Regions from separate parts of the Homo sapiens genome. Here region 2 is linked to region 1. Evidence: promoter capture Hi-C in 16 types of primary human blood cells and fetal thymus (Javierre and others, 2016). All regions are on one chromosome and are shown on one strand. Each heading gives the region's core, a stretch centred on a gene start or on the middle of the fragment in contact. The rest is flanking DNA. Distances are from core to core; before and after follow the strand shown.

Evidence for each region. Contacts are between HindIII fragments. The CHiCAGO score rates a contact against its expected background, and 5 or more counts as called.
Region 2: a contact is called between a fragment that was not itself captured here and the fragment with the promoter of APOC4 in region 1, in 2 of 17 cell types (total B cells and naive B cells). The highest score is 5.7, in total B cells.

What each region holds. Positions count from the first base shown.
Region 1 is chr19:44,938,021-44,944,888 of GRCh38, forward strand. APOC4 (apolipoprotein C4) reads left to right here and starts at 4,217. Exons shown (of 3, transcript NM_001646.3): 1 at 4,217-4,333; 2 at 6,729-6,868. The coding sequence starts at 4,258. APOC4-APOC2 (APOC4-APOC2 readthrough (NMD candidate)) reads left to right here and starts at 4,218. Exons shown (of 6, transcript NR_037932.1): 1 at 4,218-4,333; 2 at 6,729-6,868. The HindIII fragment of the contact is 22,942 bases long and covers 1-6,868 here.
Region 2 is chr19:44,650,433-44,657,524 of GRCh38, forward strand. It overlaps PVR (PVR cell adhesion molecule), which reads left to right. Exons shown (of 8, transcript NM_006505.5): 4 at 3,468-3,585. It overlaps MIR4531 (microRNA 4531), which reads right to left and starts at 3,300; the gene lies at 3,254-3,300. RefSeq lists an enhancer at 4,271-4,330 and a silencer at 6,106-6,306. The HindIII fragment of the contact is 5,987 bases long and covers 1-4,245 here.

The DNA.
Region 1 (6,868 bases), core at 2,967-5,466:
AGCTGGGACTACAGGGGCATGCCACCACGCCTAGCTAAATTTTTTTTTTTTATTTTTAGTAGAGATGAGGTCTCCCTATGTTGCCCAGATTAGTGTCTTAACTCCTGGGCTCAGGTGATCCTGCCACCAGGGATTACAGGCACGAGCCACCATGCTGGCCCTTGTTTTTTGTTGTTTTTTTTTTTTTTTTTTGAGACGGAGTCTCGCTTTGTCGCCCAGGCTGGAGTGCAGTGGCGGGATCTCGGCTCACTGCAAGCTCCGCCTCCCGGGTTCACGCCATTCTCCTGCCTCAGCCTCCCAAGTAGCTGGGACTACAGGCGCCCGCCACTATGACCGGCTAATTTTTTTGTATTTTTAGTAGAGACGGGGTTTCACCGTTTTAGCCGGGATGGTCTCGATCTCCTGACCTCGTGATCCGCCCGCCTCGGCCTCCCAAAGTGCTGGGATTACAGGCGTGAGCCACCGCGCCCGGCCTGTTTTTTTTTTTTTTTTTGAGACTGAGTCTCGCACTGTCGCCCAGGCTGGAGTGCAGTGGCGCGATCTCGGCTCACTGCAACCTCCACCTTCCAGGTTCAAGCAATTCTCCTGCCTCAGCCTCCTGAGTAGCTGAGATTACAGGTGCCCACCACGATGCCCAGCTAACTTTTTTTTTTTTTTTGGTATTTTTAGTAGAGACGGGGGTTTCACCATGTTGGTCAGGCTGGTCTCGAACTCCTGACCTCGTGATCCGCCCGCCTTGGCCTCCCAAAGTGATGGGATTACAGGCGTGAGCCACCGTGCCCAGCTTTTTTTTTTTTTTTTTAAGAGACGGGGTCTTACTATGTTGCCCAGGCTGGACTCTCAAACTCCTGGGCTCAAGGAATCCTTCTACCACAGCTTTCTGAGTAGCTGGGGCTACAAGCCCCTGCCACAGTACCTGGCTGTTTTTGTTTTTTTATAATTGTGGTAAAATATAAACAACATGGCCGGGTGTGGTGGCTCACGCCTGTAATCTCAACACTCTGGGAGGTTGAGGTGGGAGGATTACTTGAACCCAGGAGTTCAAGACCAGTCTGGGCAACTTGGCAAAACTGTGTTTCTACAAAAAATAAAAATATTAGCTGGGCAGCCAGGCGCAGTGGCTCATGCCTGCAATCCCAGCACTTTGGGAGGCTGAGGTGGATGGATCACCTGAGAGGTCAGGAGTTTGAGACCACCCTGGCCAACATGGTGAAAACCTGTCTCTTTAAAAATACAAAAAAATGAGCCAGCCATGGTGGCTCACGCCTGTAATCCCAGCACTTTGAGAGGCCAAGGCAGGTGGATCACCTGAGGTCAGGAGTTCAAGACCAACCTGGCCAACATTGTGAAACCCCGTCTCTACTAAAAATACAAAAAATTAGCTGGGCATGGTGGCAGGCGCTTATAATTCCAGCTACTAAGGAGGCTGAGGCCGGAGAATCGCTTGAACCCGGGAGGCGGAGGTTGCAGTGAGTCAAGATCGCACCATTGCACTCCAGCCTGGGCAACAAGAGCGAAACTATGTCTCAAATACATACATACATACAAAAAATTAGCCGGGTGTGGTTGCCGCACACCTGTAATCCCAGCTACGCGGGAGGCTGAAGCAGGAGAATCGCTGGAACCCGGGAGGCAGAGGTTGCAGTGAGCCAAGATCACACCATTGCACTCTATCCTGGGTGACGGAGTGAGACTCTGCCTCAAAAAAAAAAAAAAAAAAAAAAAAACTTAACCATTGCAGCCATTTTTAGGTGTACAGTTCAGTGGCATTAAGTACATTCACACTGTTGTGCAACCATCCCCACTATTTGCAGGATGTCTTCGTCATCCCAAACAGAAACTCTGGGTGTTTTCAATCTGCTGATGATTGCTACAGAGGAATTCCAGGGGACATCTGTTGCGCACCTACTGTGCTCACGCTGGGGCCTCTGGGATGGACAGGATTCTGCCAAGGCAGACATCTGGGTCAAGACAGTCCTGCACAGTTGTTCAGGTTGTGGCCAAGGTTGCGTTTGCAGATTTGCCATGTAAAAATACAGGATGCTCAGTTACATTTGAATTTCAGATTAATAGCAAAAAAAACTTTTTGGTATAATTCTGAAATATTTCATGGGACATATTTATACTAAAACGTCATGCACTGTTGATTTGAAATTCAAATGTAATTGGGCCTCCTCTATTTCGTCTGGCAAGCGTAGACAAAAGAATCCAGTCCAGGCCAGGCGCAGTGGCTCAAGCCTGTAATCCCAGCACTTTGGGAGGCCGAGGCGGGCGGATCACGAGGTCAGGAGATCGAGACCATCCTGGCTAACACGGTGAAACCCCGTCTCTACTAAAAATACAAAAAATTAGCTGGGCGTGGTGGCGGGTGCCTGTAGTCCCAGCTACTCGGGAGGCTGAGGCAGGAGAATGGCGTGAACCTGGGAGGCGGAGCTTGCAGTGAGCCGAGATCGCGCCACAGCACTCCAGCCTGGGCGACAGAGCCAGACTCTGTCTCAAAAAAAAAAAAAAGAATCCAGTCCATAGTCCCCTGAGCCATGTGCCCTGGGGTGCAGCTGGGTCCTTCAGGAGAAAAATGCTCTATTTCTGGCACTGGGACCGAGCCTGATGTGGGTTTTTTGTTGGTTTTTGTTGTTGTTATTGTTTTTGAGACAAGGTCTCGCTCCACCACACCCGGCTAATTTTTGTATTTTTAGTAGAGACGGGGTTTCACTACGTTGGCCAGGCTGGTCTTGAACTCCTGACCTCAAGTGAGCCGCCTGCCTCGGCCTCCCAAAGTGCTGGGATTACAGGTGGGAGCCACCGCCCTGGCCCTGGGCCTGATGTTGATGACCTCCTACTATGTGCACCTGCAGCTCTCCTGCATAGGCCTCAGCCGTCCTGCATGAGGACACTGGGAGGCAGGTGCTCCCTATCAACCCCGTGTTACAGTTGAACAAACTGAGCCCCAGAAAAGAAAACGTATTTGCCCAGGTCACACGGTGAAGAAGTGAGGGATTCGAAGCCCAGGTCCATCTGAAGCCAGAGTCACCCAGAGGAGAAAGAGTTGGAATTGAGAACTCAAGGAATGCTTGGAAGTGATCGGGCTCGAGCCCACCTAGGAAGAAACAGAGGCTGGAGACATGAGACTGTGTTGCTATTTCCTCTCATCAACCCTTGGGCCCTATTGAGGCCCTACCACAAGCCTGGCCCTGCAGCCCAGTGACTAGGAGAAATTAGACACAAGATAATAATAACAGCAATGATCTTTTTTTTTTTTCTGAGACGGAGTCTTGCTCTTTCGCCCAGGCTGGACTGCAGTGGCGCGATCTCGGCTCAATGCAAGCTCCACCTCCCAGGTTCACGCCATTCTCCTGCCTCAGCCTCCCGAGTAGCTAGGACTACAGGCGCCTGCCACCACGCCTGGCTAATTTTTCATATTTTTAGTAGAGATGGGGTTTCACCGTGTTAGCCAAGATGGTCTCAATCTCCTGACCTCGTGATCCGCCTGCCTCGGCCTCCCAAAGTGTTGGGGTTACAGGCATGAGCCACCGCGCCTGGCCAACAGCAATGATCTTTGAGCACCTATATTGCCAGTCTCCACGGTAAGAGCTTTCTTCATTTTTTGTTTTGTTTTGTTTCAAGACAGAGTCTTGCTCTGTCACCCAGGCTGGAGTGCAGTGGTGTGATCGCGGCTCACTGCAGCCTTCACTTCCCGGGTTCAAGCCATTCTCCTGCCTCAGCCTCCCAAGTAGCTGGGATTACAGGCACGCATCACTACTTCTGGCTAATTTTTGTATTTTTAGTAGGGACAGGGTTTTTCACCATGTTGGCCAGGTTGGTCTCAAACTCCTGGCCTCATATGATCTGCCCACCTCGGCCTCCCAAAGTGCTGGGATTACAGGCGTGAGCCACTGCGCCTTTCTTTGTATTTGTTCAAGTAATATACTGAAATATGTACTGTGCCTCCCACTTTATGGAGGAGGAAACTGAGGCCAGCAAATGAGGCTGTCATGGGAGGTGGAGACAGGATTTGAACCTGCCTCAGTGCAGGAGGCTCAAGAGCCTCTGTCTTCTCTCAGGGCACTGTGTGGGAGGGTGAGAAGGAGGGAGGCCCACAGAGGCATGACCTCTGATTGCCACTGTCACCTGGGCCCTGCTCTCTGAAGTCTCTGCCAAGCGGGGAGGTGGCCGGGGGAGGGCCCTGCTCTGTGCAGCCTCCCCTCCCCCGGCCCGCAGAGTTGAGCACAGAGGGACAGAGGCACGGAACCCCCAGAAATGTCCCTCCTCAGAAACAGGCTCCAGGCCCTGCCTGCCCTGTGCCTCTGCGTGCTGGTCCTGGCCTGCATTGGGGGTGAGAAGAAGTGGGTGGAGGGATGTGGGGCCCACACCTGGTGGGTGTGAGTGTGGCTGTGTGTCCTGTGGCTCTGTAGCCACGTGAGACATGAGTACGGAGTGTGTGCGTTTCATGGCGTGCGTATGCATGTGCGTGTCGGGGAGTGTGTGTGTCGGTGGCTGAGAGTGAAGTGTGAATGTCACATTGGTACAAACTGGGATCATCTGTGTGTGTGCACGTGCGTGCGTGGAAGTGGGAGTATGCAGTCGTGGTAAAAAAGTGCATGTCTGTGTGCATATGTGTATTTGTGTGCACCTGTCTCTCTGTGGGGTATGTGTGTGCAAAATATTTGAGTGTGTGGACATGTGTGAGGGGGTGAGTGTGTGCTGGTGTGTACGTCTGTGTTTTGCATATGCATTTTTTTTTTTTTTTTTGAGACGGAGTCTCACTCTGTCACCCAGGCTGGAGTGCAGTGGTAGCAGTGGTGCGATCTTGGCTCACTGCATCATCCGCCTACCCGTTTCAAGGGATTCTCCTGCCTCAGTCTTCAGAGTATTTGGGACTACAGACACACGCCACCATGCCTGGCTAATTTTTTTTTTTTGAGACGGAGTCTCGCTCTGTTACCCAGGCTGGAGTGCAGTGGCGTGATCTTGGCTCACTGCAACGTCCGCCTCCCGGGTTCACGCCATTCTCCTGCCTCAGCCTCCCGAGTAGCTGGGACTACAGGAGCCCACCACCACGCCTGGCTAATTTTTTGTATTTTTACTAGAGACGGGGTTTCGCCGTGTTAGCCAGGATGGTCTCCATATCCTGACCTCGTGATCCGCCTGCCTCGGCCTTCCAAAGTGCTAGGATTATAGGCGTGAGCCACTGCGCCTGGCCAATGCCTGGCTAATTTTTTTATATTTTTGGTAGAGACAGGGTTTTGCCATGTTGCCCAGGCTGGTCTTGAAATCCTGACCTCAGGTGATCCGCCCGCCTTGGCCTCCCAAAGTGCTGGGATTACAGGCATGAGCCACCACGCCCGGCCATGTACTTTATGTTAAAATGGGATCATATTCTAGATCAGCATTATCCAGTAGAAATTTAAATTTTTAATACAGGGCCAGGCACGGTGGCTCATGCCTGTAATCCCAGCACTTTCGGAGGCCGAGGCGGGTGGATCGCAAGGTCAGGAGATTTGAGATCATCCTGGCTAACAGATGGGTAAAAACCCATCTCTACTAAAAATACAAAAAATTAGCCATGCATGGTGGCATGCGCCTGTAGTCCCAGCTACTCGGGAGGCTGAGGCCGGAGAATCACTTGAACCCGGGAGGCAGAGGTTGCAGTGAGCCGAGATCGCGCCACTGCATTCCAACCTGGGTGACAGAGCGAGACTCCGTCTGAAAAAAAAAAAAAATTTAACACGTATGTAGACAATGTGCAAGGCACCATTCCATGTGCATCGTATGTAGTAACTCTTAATTCTCACGATAACCCTGAGGTAGATATTATTACCCCGTTCTACAAAAGGAGAAACAGTCCTGGGGAGACAGGATAAGTCACCGGCCAAGGCACACAGCTAGCTACATGTGGCCCCCGCGTGACGGCTGGTCTCTGTAGGCGAGGCTTTGTCCAGATGCGTGGGTAGAAGGTCTGGCCCGGAAAGAGGAACTGACAGCAAGGCTAAGCCAATGTCTGCCCCTGGGGGCAGAAAGTCACCTCCTGCTCTCCCTCCACTGTCCACAGAGGTAGCTCAGACAGGGTGGGGGTCACAGGAGAACGAAGGGAGAAGGGGGTAGTTCCTGGGCAGCAAAATCAGGTGGTGAAGGGAGGCATCAGAGGATGGCAATTAGAGAGGCCATTAGAGGGGAACCACAGGCAGACAGGGTGACAGGAGGGACTACTGACACAAGGTGAAGAGATGGCCCAGCCGGACGGGGTGGCTCACATCTGTAATCCCAGCATTTTGGGAGCCCGAGGTGGGTGGATCACTTGAGGTCAGGAGTTCGAGGCCCCAACATGGCAAAACCCCATCTCTTCTAAAAATACAAAAATTAGCCGGGCATGATGGCAGATGCCTGTAATCCCTGCTACTCGGGAGGCTGAGGCAGGAAAATTGCCTGAATCCAGGAGGTGGAGGTTGCAATGAGACGAGATCATGACACTGCACTCCACCCTGGGCAACAGAGCAAGAGACTGACTCTGTCTCATAAAAAAAAAGAAAAAAGAAAAAAAAAAAGAGATGGCTGATGGTTAAAGAGGGGTTAGCGGTCAGGGGACACATAAGGGTAAAGGCAGGAGGCAAGAGGACTGGCAGGGGGCTGCCCCTGGGCCACCGGGAGCGACACAGGATGAGCATGGAGGGAAAGGGAGAAGGGGATTCTAGGGTCCCAGCCTACCCAAGTTGCCCTCTGGTTCCACCTAGCATGCCAGCCAGAGGCCCAGGAAGGAACCCTGAGCCCCCCACCAAAGCTAAAGATGAGTCGCTGGAGCCTGGTGAGGGGCAGGATGAAGGAGCTGCTGGAGACAGTGGTGAACAGGACCAGAGACGGGTGGCAATGGTTC
Region 2 (7,092 bases), core at 2-2,501, 290 kb before region 1:
CTACACCCATTTCCCCAGGCAAGTATCCACAATGACCCTCCCCACATTGCTACACTGGTTCTTCTGGCCACGATCAACACTGCCTCCCTTATTGTCTACACCCACTCCCTTGTCCTTTTCTTTCTTTCCTTTTTTTTTTTTTTTTTTTGAAATAGAGTCTCACTCTGTTACCCAGGCTGCAGTACAGTGGCATGTTCTCGGCTCACTGTAACCTCTGCCTCCCAAATTCAGGTGGTTCTCCTACCTCAGCCTCCCAAATAGCTGGGATTAAAGGTGCACACCACCACACCTGGCTAATTTTTGTATTTTTAGTAGAGACAGGGTTTCATCATGTTGGCCAGGCTGGTTTCGAACTCCTGACCTCAGGTGATCGGCCTGCCTCAGCCTCCCAAAGTATGCTGGAATTATAGGCATGAGCCACTGTGCCCGGCTTTTTGTTTTGTTTTGTTTTTCCTTTGGACAGGGTCTCGCTCTGTCACCCAGGCTGGAGTGTAGGGGCATGATCATGGTTCCTACAGCCTCACCCTTCCAGGCTCAAGCAATCCTTCTCCCTCAGCCTCCCAAGTAACTGGGACTACAGGTGCAGCCACCATGCCCGGCTAATTTTACAGTTTTTTTCTAGAGAGAGTTTTGCTGTGTTGCCCAGGCTGGTCTCAAACTCCTAGGCTTAAGTGATCCTCCCGCCTCAGTCTCCCGAAGTGCTGAGATTACAGGCGTGAGCCACTGCACCTGGCCCCTTGTCCATTTTCTACACTGCCTTACCATTGTCTACACTGGCTCTCCTGGGCCACAGACAGCACTAACCCCATTGTCTACACCACCTATTTTGGCCACCAGCTGTGGGGTGTTTTCACTGTCTCCCATAGTGTCTACACTGGCTCCTATGACCACTGTCTATGTAAACACCCCACTTTTTCTACACTGGTTCTCCTAGGCACTCTCTAAAGTGCCCCCTGACACTGTCTACACTGACTCCCTGGAGAACTGTCTGCATTCACCTCCCACATTGTATCGACCAGTTCCCCTGAGCCACGATCAACTGTCTCCGCCGGGTGCTAGTTGCATTGATCTTCTCACATTGTTTGTGCTGGCTCCCCTAAGCAGTGTCTGCAGAGTCCCCCAGTGTAGTCTCCATGTTCCTCTGCCCAATATTGTCTACACTGGCTCATCTACAGGCTATCCAGTCTCACCCCACATCACCACACTGGCCTCCTTGTGTTCTGTCTGCACAGCCCCCTGACAGCATCTGTCCTGATTCTCCTGCACAGCGTTACCTCCACCAGCTCCCTCATGGCATCATCGACATTGACACCCACACATTTATCTCCACTGACAGCCCCAGGACTCTCTAACCAGTGCTGTCTAACAGAAATAGCATGCAAGCTGCATATAGGATTTTAAATTCTCCAGCGGCCACCCCATTAAAAAATTAAAAGAAAGAGGCCAGGCACGGTGGCTCACGCCTGTAATCCCAGCACTTTGGGAGGCCGAGGCAGGTGGATCACCTGAGGTCAGGCATTCAAGACCAGCCTGATCAATGTGGTGAAACTCTGTCTTCACTAAAAAATACAAAAATTAGCCAGGCACGGTGGCGGGTGCCTGTAATCCCAGCTACTCGGGAGACTGAGGCAGGAGAATCACTTGAACCTGGGAGGCGGAGATTGCAATGAGCGAGATTACGCCATTGCACTCCAGCCTGGGCAGCAGAGCAAAACTCCATCTCAAAAACAAGAAAAGAAAGAGATGAAATTTATTTGTTTATTTATTTATCTATTTATTTATTTGAGACGGGGTCTTACTCTGTCACCCAGACTGGAGTGCAGTGGCACAGCTCCCTGCAGCCTCAACCTCCTGGGCTTAAGTGATCCTCCCACCTCAGCCTCAGTCTCCTGAGTAGCTGGGACTACAGGCGTGTGACACCATGCCTAGCTAATTTTTGTTTTTGTTTTTGTTTTTGTTTTTTTGTTTTGTGATGAAGTCTTGCTCTGTCACCCAGGCTAGAGTGCAGTGGCACGATCTCAACTCACTGCAGCCTCCGCCTCTCGGGTTCAAGTGATTCTCCTGCCTCAGCCTCCCGAGTAGCTGGGATTACAAGCCCTGGCCACAGTGCCCAGCTAATTTTTGTATTTGTGGTAGAGACGGGATTTCACCATGTTGGCCAGGCTGGTCTCAAACTCCTGACCTCGTGATCCACCCACCTTGGCCTCCCAAATTGCTGGGATTACAGACGTGAGCCACCGCACCCGGCCTATTTTTATTTTTTCTGGAGACAGGATCTCCCTATGTTGCCCAGGCTGGTCTCAAACTCCTGGGCTCAAGTGATCCTCCTGCCTCAACCTCCCAAGGTACTGGGATTACAGGCATGAGCCACTGTGCCTGGCCAAAATTAATTTTTAATAATTGCCTTTACTTAACCCAATATACCTAAAATATTATTTCAACTTGTAATTGTTTTTTTAAAATTATTCTTGAGATCTTTCCCATTTATTTTGTCCTAGTAAAGCCTTTGAAATCTGGTGTGTATTTCGGCCTGGCTATATTTCGAGTGCTCAGTAGTCACATGTGGCCAGTAGGTGCCATATTGGACAGCACAGATCTAGACTAAGCTCCCACATCATCTACACTGGCTCATCCAAATACTGTCTACACACATACACAGAGCCTGTCTTAATTTCGTCAGCTCCCGGGGACACACTGTATATGTGGGGGTGATCTCACCCCCACCACCACATTTTCAACACTGGCCCGACAATATAGCATCTGCTGTAATATTCCAACACCCTGTCTACACTGAACCCATCAGTAATATCCACACAAGCTCTTCTAGACATCATTCATACTGTTCCTCCCACCATTGTCTATACTGCTTACTCCCCGCCAGGCAATTGGTACACAGATTCCCTCAGGTACTGTCTATACTGGAGTCCCTCAACACTGTCACTGGGTCTGAGCGAGGAGGAGATCTACACTGACTCCTACCCCTCGCCCCCGAATAAAACCCTGTCCCATTGGCCTGCCCCCAAGGACATTGAAAGGTCTTCGCTGTCAATCACGTATGGGATGGCTGAGCAGCAGCCTAGAGCAGGGTTATCTGGGACTCTTTCCTGCAGGACTTGTCAGAACCTTGAATACACTGCTGTGTGTTGTGAGTGGTCATTGCCTATGAGTGAGAAAAGGAGGAGGCATTTTCCTGCAGGACACCCAAGACATGCCTGGTCCAGGCTACCCAGGAAAGCTAGTGGAGAAAAGCAGCTCCTCAGAAGCCTTCTCCATGTCCCCACTGACCAAGGACTCCTAGGCTTCTGCTCTCTGTGGCACCCCATCTACCTAGACTCCTCCTAGGCCTCTCCAGCTCCCGCTGTTTTCCAAATATCCCCGGGCCTTTTCCTGCAGTGTCGTGAATCCCGCGTAGCCCCAGGCCCCCCAAAGCCTCCCAGTCTCTGAACCTCTGTATCCATTTCCTGCAGACCCCCCAGAGGTATCCATCTCTGGCTATGATAACAACTGGTACCTTGGCCAGAATGAGGCCACCCTGACCTGCGATGCTCGCAGCAACCCAGAGCCCACAGGCTATAATTGGAGCACGTGAGTCCTGGGTCTCAGGGAGGAGGGGCTGGGGGTCTGGATTTCTAGCACTGAGGGAGGAGGGGCTGGGGGCCTGGACTCCTGGGACTGAGGGAGAAGGGGCTGGGGGCCCGGACCCCTGGGTCTGAGGGACGAGAGGCTGGGAGCCCGGACTCCTGGGTCTGAGGGAAGAGGGGCTGGGGGTCTGGACCCCTGGGACTGAGAGAGGAGGGGCTGGGCCTGGACCCCTGGGTCTGAGGGAGGAGGGGCTGGGGGGTCTGGACCCCTGGGTCTGAGGGAGGAGAAGCTGGGAGCCTGGACCCCTGGGTCTGAGGCAGGACAGACTGGGGCCTGGACTCCTGGTCTAAGAGAGGAGGGAGATTCAGAAAAGAGAAAAAGAGGAGGTTGACTTCGGGCCCCCAGTGGGGGGCATCTCTGTTTTGACATCTCTGTTTTGCGGTTGAGGCGTTTAGCAGGTGGTTGAATCCTGGCTGGTGGATGCACCTGCTTTTTGGGGTGTGCCTGCTCTGTGCCCGGTACTTCCCCCGAATCCCATGTGACCCCATGCTGTGCACAGTCAGCAGCTGTTGCCCTGCCCAGGTTAAAGACCAGCCACGAGAGGGCAGAAGCGGCCCTTGAATCAGCGCTCGGCTCCAAAGCTGGTCCTCCGCCTCTTGGCCAAGCTTGTCTAACCTGCAGGCCACATCATTTGTAAACTTTCTTAAAACATTATGAGACTTTTTTTTTGCGAATTTTTTTAGCTCATTAGCTATTGTTAGTGTTAGTGTATTTTATGTATGGCCCAGGACAGTTCTTCTTCTTCCAATGTGGCCCGGGGAAGCCAAAAGATTGGACACCCCCACTCTAGACTGTAACCACCTCACCGTCACCTTGTGTAACCTACTTGGTTATCTCTGGATGGAGCAAGTACTATATATCCCCATTGTCTAGATGAGAAAGTTGAGGCTCACAGCAATAAGATTTCCCCAGATTCACACTGAGGCTGAGATCAAGAGCAAGGTAAGAAAAAGGCAAAGAGATAATACATAATTTTATAATACATAATTTTACATAAATTACATAATTTTACTGAACCGCCCTTTTTTTTTAAAGAAGGGGCTCTGTTGCCGAGGCTGGAGTGCAGTGGCGTGATCATAGCTCACTGCAGCCTGGACCTCCCTGGGCTCAGGTGATCCTCCCACCTCAGCCTCCTGAGTAGCTGGGACTACAGGCACACGCCACCACACTCAGCTAATTTTGTTGTATTTTTTTTGCAGAGACAGGGTTTTGCCACATTGCCCAGGCTGGTCTGCAACTCCTGGGCTCAAGCAATCAACCCACCTCAGCCTCCTAAAGTGCTGGGATTACAGGCGTGAGCCACCTCGCCCAGCCTTAGGTCTTTTTCCTTATTACAAAAATAACTTGTGTCCACTGTAGAAATATCAAACAATTTAGTTATGAGCAAAAAGAAGAAAGTAGTGCCTATAGTTCAAGTGTACCCAGCCACCTCCAGAAATACCCAGTGACCCCTTATTATACATCCTGTCTTTTTTCTCTCTGTTTCTAAACAAAGACTGGAATTATGCTGTACATATAATTTTGAACCTTTTCGTCTGTCTTGTGAATACCTTTCCATGTCAAAGCACATAGATCCACAACTCCATTTTCCCCCACGTTGTATTAGGAAGACTGTCAAACATACAGAAAAATCATAGGAATTTTCCAGTGAACACTTAAGATTCCACCACGTGGATTCCCCTGCTAACATTTTACTGTGCTTGCTTTATCACGTTTCTGTGATTCCTTCAGTCCCTCTATTCATCCATCAATCATATTATGCATTTCAGAGCACCCCCAGCTCTCCTGCTTTTTTTTTTTTTTTTTTTTTTTTGAGGCAGGGCCTCACTCTGTTGCTCAGGCTGTAGTGCCGTGGCACAATCACAGCTCACTGCAGCCTTGAATTCCTGGGCTCAAGCGATCCTCCAGCTTCAGCCTCCCAGATAGCTGGGACTACAGGCACACACCACCACGCCTGGCTAACCTGGCCCCTTTTTTAGTGTTGCTGGGATTCCACCACTTTAAAAAAAAAATTCAAAGAATAGAGACAGGATCTCACTATGTTGCCCAGGCTGGTCTTGAACTCCTGTACTCAAGCAGTCATCTCACCTGGGCCTCCCAAAGGGCAGGGAAGGGATTCCAACATATGTGGATGTCATCAGTTATTTAACCAGTCCCTAGTAGAGGACACAGATGTCATTTTCCATTTTCAACTCTGCAAATGCCATGGTGGTGTCCATCCCCACTGGTCACTTGTCAGCAGTTGTCCGTGGAAGGAATTGCCGGTCAAAGGTTTTCAACTGGTGTGATGGTGCCTTTACTGTCCTGCCTCAAAGCACCGCAATTCAGGCTCTTGAGCCAGATAGCTGCGTTTGCATCCCAGCTCTGCGGAGCACCCAAAGCCTGATGCTTCCATCTCCTCCACCTCTGTTCATTAAACCAGTGTTCCTTGACTACTTACTGTGTGCCGGGTGCAATTAACCAACATACGTTGGTCGATAAAACAGACCAAATTTCCTCCCCATATAGAGCTTCCATTCTAGTGGTGAAAGAAACAAGAAGCAAGATAAAGTGTGTAGTGTGTGTGCAATGGTGATAAATACCATGGAGAAGACAAAGCAGAGAAGGGAATGGGACTGGGCGCCATGACTCATACCTGTAATCCCAGCACTTTGGGAGGCAGAGATGGGAGGATCACTTGAGGCTAGGAGTTCAAGACCAGCCTGGCCAACATGGCGAAACCCCATCTCTACCAAAAAAGATACAAAAATTGGCCGGGTGTGGTGGCATGCACCTGTAGTCCCAGCTACTCAGGAGGCTGAGGTGGGAAGATTCCATGCACCCAGGAGGTGGAGGTTGCAGTGAGTCAAGATGGTGCCACTGCACTCCAGCCTGGGTGACAGAGTGAGACGCTGTCTCAAAAAAATAATAATTAAATAAATTAAAGAGAAGGGGATGGGAAGGGTGATCATCACAGTTGAAATAGGGTGGCCAAGTGAGGTGTTACTAAGGTGACATCCCAGCAGAGGCCTGAAGGAGATGAGGGTGAGCTCTGCGGGTGCCTAGGGGGAAAGCATTCCAGCAGAGGGAACAGCATGGGCAAACCCATTTCTATCCATCAGTCCCTGCATAAGCAAACACCCTGGACACCTAACTGGAGAGTTTGAGGACCAACAAAGAGGCCACTGTGGATGCAGAGGCGGGAGCAAAGGGGAGAGTAATGGAAAACGTGGGCAGAGGTAGCAGGGGCCAGATCACGTGGGGCCTGTGACACCAGAAGACTTCGGTTTAACTCTGAGCCAGGCTAGGCCCCCAGAGGGTACTGAGCTGAGGTATGGGAACTGACTTAGGGTTCACAGGCGACCTCTGGTGGCCATGTGGGGAACAGACGAGGGGGCGAGGGCAGAAACGGAGCCCAGCGTGGAGGCGGCTGCTGGGGGCCGGGATGCACAGCGCCAGAGCAGGGAGGTA